Linked DNA regions of Homo sapiens: region 1 is linked to region 2. Evidence: promoter capture Hi-C in 16 types of primary human blood cells and fetal thymus (Javierre and others, 2016). All regions are on one chromosome and are shown on one strand. Each heading gives the region's core, a stretch centred on a gene start or on the middle of the fragment in contact. The rest is flanking DNA. Distances are from core to core; before and after follow the strand shown.

What was found. Contacts are between HindIII fragments. The CHiCAGO score rates a contact against its expected background, and 5 or more counts as called.
Region 1: a contact is called between a fragment that was not itself captured here and the fragment with the promoter of DYDC1 in region 2, in 1 of 17 cell types (non-activated CD4 T cells). The highest score is 5.3, in non-activated CD4 T cells.

Annotation. Positions count from the first base shown.
Region 1 is chr10:80,632,901-80,635,620 of GRCh38, reverse strand. It overlaps SH2D4B (SH2 domain containing 4B), which reads right to left. Exons shown (of 8, transcript NM_001388272.1): 7 at 1,116-1,336. All of the region lies in intron 1 of LOC105378387 (a long non-coding RNA gene), which reads left to right. Among named protein-coding and RNA genes, the nearest start is that of LINC02655, 16 kb to the left of the region's middle. The HindIII fragment of the contact is 1,207 bases long and covers 682-1,888 here.
Region 2 is chr10:80,355,218-80,358,056 of GRCh38, reverse strand. DYDC1 (DPY30 domain containing 1) reads left to right here and starts at 1,302. Exons shown (of 7, transcript NM_001269053.2): 1 at 1,302-1,345. It overlaps DYDC2 (DPY30 domain containing 2), which reads right to left and starts at 1,276. Exons shown (of 5, transcript NM_032372.6): 1 at 1,232-1,276; 2 at 12-164. The HindIII fragment of the contact is 3,945 bases long and covers 1-2,839 here.

The DNA.
Region 1 (2,720 bases), core at 36-2,535, 280 kb before region 2:
GATCCTGGTTAGTCCAGTTTCCAGGCAGTACTCCACACTCAGTGCCCGAGTATCTGTGAATAGGTGATTCTCCATGTGTATTATTCATAAGGTCAAGGGCTGTCCCTGAATTTCTAGGGACTTCCATGAAGAGACAAAGAGAAAGCAATACAAACCTAAGAGTCCCTATTATACCAAAACCCCAGTGAGACCGTCAAGTCATTCTGTGAAACCATCTACACCCACAAAGCTTGGTTAGATGTCGGACGCCGGAGCTACCACCACTCTGCCCCTCGGAATCCTTCGTCCTGCCCTTCCAGGTCACTGAGTTCCACCTCTGGCTTTCTCCCAGTTACTAATGATGCCAACGGCCACACGAACATAAACGTTGCTTCTTACTACATACACTGCTTGGAAGACAACATCTTTTCCAATATAGGGTCCATGGCAGGAGGACAAATAACAAAAAGAATGCTGAGAAACAAGACTTTCCATAAGCACTTCACAGTCACAAAGCGCTGCTCTGTACTTGACTTCATTTAATGCTCACAGGGTCCGAGCTAAGTATTATTCACATCCATTTGCCTGGCTAGGACGCTGACGTTTGGTGAGACTAAGGTGCTGGCTCAAGGTCACACATGTACTAAGTGGTTAAGCTGGAGTTCAAATAAGAGACATGGTAACTCCACCACTAGAAAAGCTTCTCTAATCACAGGGTTGCCTACTGCACTTCAGCTAACTCTCAGAAGCTGCTAGAGGTCTGGCTTGGAGGTCCTCATGAGAGACGTTCTTGGGAATGAGTTGGAGATGAGACCCAGGCTTGGAGAAAGGGATGATCATCCAGTCCTTGTGTTAACAGGAGGGAGCACTCAGGTACCCAAGGTGAGAAGAGGCCTGAGGACCAGGGTGAGAGGTGCCCGCATGCCCCAGAGAGTGAAGCAGAGAGCAGAACAGTGGGCCCTCGGGCCCCGTGTGGACAACCTCTGGTCTCTTCTGCCCTGATGCTCTACATCTCTGAGACCCTCCAGCCCCACTGCCCAGAGCCAGCAGCCTTGCTTCTCTTGCTCTAGCTCTCTCTTCAGCTCCAATTTCCACCAGTTCCCCCTCCCCCCCATTAGTATCCCTGTGAGGGATACCTTATGGAAATCAACGAGATCCGTGAGCGTTGCATGGCGATTGGGGTCCACTCCCAGGAAGCTGTAAAAATCCCCAGAAGCATCCACAAGAAAGTGTTTGAACCCTTTCTGCAGGCGGTAGGAGAGGGTGTAACCCCAGATTTTCTCACTGACCCGGACCAGGAATGCTCCCTCAGTCATGTTCTCCAGGAGAGCTTCTGCATCTTCTCGGCTAATAATTCCTGATTTAAAATAGAAAAAAACAAAAAAACACAGCAGGTTCTGCGACTGCCTCCCCCACGATTCTCCACTCCTCCCTGCCCCTCACCCTGTGGCTCAGTGCACATGCCATCCACACAGTCCAGGGTGGCAGGAAGGAAAGAGCCCCAAGGGCTGGCCAAGCACATGCCTCCTTCCACAGAGAGGGCATCTTGGCCCAGCGCCACCCGCCGTGAGCCTGGGGGCAGAGTTTCTACTAGGACGTGAGTTGAGCATGCTTTCCTCCACATTGAGCCAGGGTGATTTGGATTAATTGGGTAAGCAAGGAATTAGTAGTGAGCTGTGATTATAGCATTATTGATTATAAATATAAGTCAACAGGCTTGTGAAAAGCCTTAAGAGGCCTGCTTTAAAGACTAGTCCAGAATGGCTGCTGATGACTAACTCACTTATTTCTCTAGTACCATAAATAAGCACCTAAAAATAGGGGTTTCCCTTAAAAAGTAAAAAGACTTCTTCCAAATACCTGTGGACACCAGGCAAAAAGTTTCTTAATAGGGGCATAGAATCAAGCTTCACTTCAGCTCAGAGATCAAAACTTTCTAAGGACTTGCACTCCTACACAATGCAGTTTCATCACAATTTGGAATTCTGGTTGGCCTTGGAGTCGTTGATATGCTGGTAGCAATCCCCTGAAATGCTCTCAGGAAGCCGCTGTCATCTGGGTGATATAGGAGGCGTGATGTAGAACAGGTTCCAGAGGCAAGTAGGTGGGAAGAGGAGGGGAAGCCAGAAGACCTGGATTACCCCCACCCCCGACCTCTGCCAACCTGGCTATGGAATTTCCAGCCAAGCCCTCAAGGTCTCCAGTGTCCTTTGACATTTAGATGATCATAACCCAAATACTTAGAAGGTATGTTATGACTTTCAAGTTGAATAAAGTATTCAAACTCATTTCATACATAGAGAATAGCTGTGGAGATGCTGGATCCTGTTAGCATCTGTTATTCTGGAGGAGAGGTGAATTGCAACACATTGTCCCTTTGCTCACCCATGGACTTACCCTTTCCACACTATCAGTGACAGGCATGGGGACAGAGTGGCTGGGCTGCCCATCTCCATGACCCTGAGAGGCTCAGCACACCTGTGACTTCTCCCCAATCCCCGAAGCCACTCCCGAGCGAGCCGCAGTCAGGCTCCCCTCCCATCACTCTCCTGCCTCCCAGGGCACACTCGAGACTTCCCTTGTGCCCAAGGCATAGGACACAGAGGCAACCACACTGCCAAATGCTGCACCCTTTAAAGACAATTGGCGCAACCAGGGGCCACCTATTTCCTCCTTGCCCAGGATTTACAGCAAGAGGCATCCAAGCCAGCCACCCCTCCCCAGCCAAGCTCTACAAGCAG
Region 2 (2,839 bases), core at 53-2,552:
GGTACACTCACCAATGGGGGGAGAGGCTATTTTTCAGTGTTTCCCAGAGCTCCTCTGAGGGTCTGCTTACACAGTTCCTGGACTTGCACTCAGTAGGCAAGGTGATAAGAATAGGGGTTGTCTTTGTTTACTGTATACCGCCCACGCTTGGCACACTGGGAGCTCTGTAAATATTTCTTGACTTATTCATTGAGAGAGTTCTGCCACCTGCCCTCATGCTTCCCTTTGATTTTTCCACGCCCAATCTGGCATTTACTAGCTCAACTAACATCTATTAAGGCCTCTCTTGCCTGGCACTGCCCCGCCCATAAGCTGAAAGAGAGCACAGGAAAGGCTAGCACATGCACAGACGACTAGGCCAGGGAAGACTGCAAGGGTTTGGGCCTGGTGGAGACTGGACGGCTTCCCGGTGGTGGGGCACCCGAATTGGTTCTGAAAGGAACCAAGCAGAGGTCACCAGCAAGAGCAAAGGTGCAGAGTTGTGAAACTGCCAAGCTATTAGCAGCTTGCAGTGACGGTCTTCCAGGGACTCTGGAAGGTCTTCCACCCTTTTCCGATTGGCTGCCCTTCCTGGTTCCTCCTCAAAGCCCGCCACCTCTTTGTCTCTCCCAGAGCATGCCGGGCTGCCAGTCAGGGTCCCTTGCTCTTTTGTGTGCCCCTACTCCTCCAGGTTTCTGTGTAGCAAGTCTCCTCGGCTCACCCACCCCGCGCGCCTCCACATACGCCTTTCCTCGACCCCTCACGAGCACACGCCCGTCCCGCGTGCCCGCTCCTCTCTGCCTCCCGCCCCGATCCTACGCTCCCCCTCCTCCCTGGACCCCGCCCCCTGGAGCGCGCCCGCTTCTCTCTGCCACGCTCCCCTTCTTTCATTCCCTCTCCTCTCTGCCCGTTGCCCCCTCGTGCGCGCTCTCCCTCCTGCACACCGCCTCATCTCTGCCGCAGGCCCGACTCCTGAACGCCCCCTCCTCTCTGGCCCCCTCCCCTGGCGCGCGCCCCCTTCCGCACGACCCCTTCTCTCTGCCGGGCGCCCCGCGCCTGCACGCCCCCTCCTCTCTGCCGCGCCCCCTCTACTCTGCGGCGGGCTCCTACTCCTGCACGCCCCCTCCACTCTGCCGCGCCCCCTCTACTCTGCCGCGCCCCCTCTACTCTGCCGCCTGCTCCTACTCCTGCACGCCCTCTCCTCTCTGCTGCGCGTTCCCCCTTCGCTGCCCACCGCGTGCCCTCTGCTCACCTATCCGCGCGCCCCTTCCGCTTTGCGGCGCCTACACTGGCTCCTGAGGCGCGAGCTCTCGTTGCCTGGCAACGGGACGCCGCTCCTGGGTGGCGAGCAGGCGCGTGTGTAGGGGTGAGCGCACCGGAAAGGCCCGAACTGTTTTTGGGATTTGTTCCCCTAGCTTCGCTGGGTCCGGCGGGCAGAGGCGGTTCTGACCGTTGGGCCTTGGGCGTCGAGCAGGACTCACCTGAGGCGGAGAGAGGCCGCTTCGCGCCTGGGGCTCCCGAAAGCGGCCAGCTGTCCTCCTGCTCCCCCTGAGCGGGGAGCGCTGCGTCTCCTGCGGGCTGCGGGAGACCCTTCCAGACTCCCGGGTGGGAAAACCACACTGAGCGCCCCGGGAGGTTGCCAGATACAATACTGTATCTGGCACCCCTGCCCGGGTGCCCCCGCCCAGTTGGCTGGCTGGCTGGCTAGCTGTCTCCCAGGTGTGGGTAAGGAATCTCCTTCCATCTCTGTGGCACCTTCTTCACGCTGGAGGCAGCTGTTTCTGTGGGAAAGGGCTTTCTTATGTTGAGCCAAGATGCCTATTGGTGTATGTGAAAAATAACATTGCTTACCACAGGAGAGATGGGTATTATCCTCGTTTCACAGACAGGAACATGCTAAGGGAGTTGGCAGGCCTTGCCTGGGTCCCACTGATATGCCCAGAAATCCGAGACAGAGCCTCCCCTGACCTGGCCCCGCTGGTAGGCCAGAAGTTTTCTCTTTAGGGATAATGGTCCCCTTCCTCCCTTCCCACATTTTATCCTTCTGGAGCAGCAACAGGAGTCTGTGCACCTTTTTTTTTTTTTTTTTTTAACTTCACTTCAAATGACTTTGAGATGTCTGTGTAGCGTTTTGGTCTTTCAGGTATATCCTACTGAAGAAATACAGTGAAGATACTGTGTTCCAAAGTCAGTTGTAATAATTCTTTTCTCTGTATGGTTGAGACACCAATATCAACCTCATTTGGAATTAGGTTCATTTGTGCCAGTTTGTTTTCCGTTTTTAGAGTTTTTATGACTATGTTTACATATACACACATACACATTCCTTTCCCCACTGCTGTTGCTAATACAAAAGATGACAGACCATATACAATTTCAGCACCTCGTTTTCTTTATTCTGTGTCTTAGAGATCACTCTCTAGTTTCTTCATTCTCTTGTACATCTGCATAATAATCCATTGTGTTGCTCTTATTAATCCCCAATTTGATGAACATTTAGATGGTGCTTCAGTGTGACTATTGTAAATAATGCTGCAAATAACTGTGTGCATATGCCATTTCATATTTTTGCAACTATATCTTTGAGATAGGATCCAAGAAGCAAGATTGATGAGTCAAAGGGTGAATGCATATGTGATTTTCTAGATGTTGTCAAATTCTCCTCCATAGGAGTTATACCATTTTGCCCTCCCACCACTGTCATATGGCATATGCACATAGTTATGGCATAAAATTTCAGAGACACTGACATCCTGGGGTTCATCCATAGAATAAAAATTGGGGGTTATGGACGGACCCCAGGATGTCACTGTCTCTGAAATTTTATGCAAAATGCTAGATGCATTTGTCCAGGGACAAG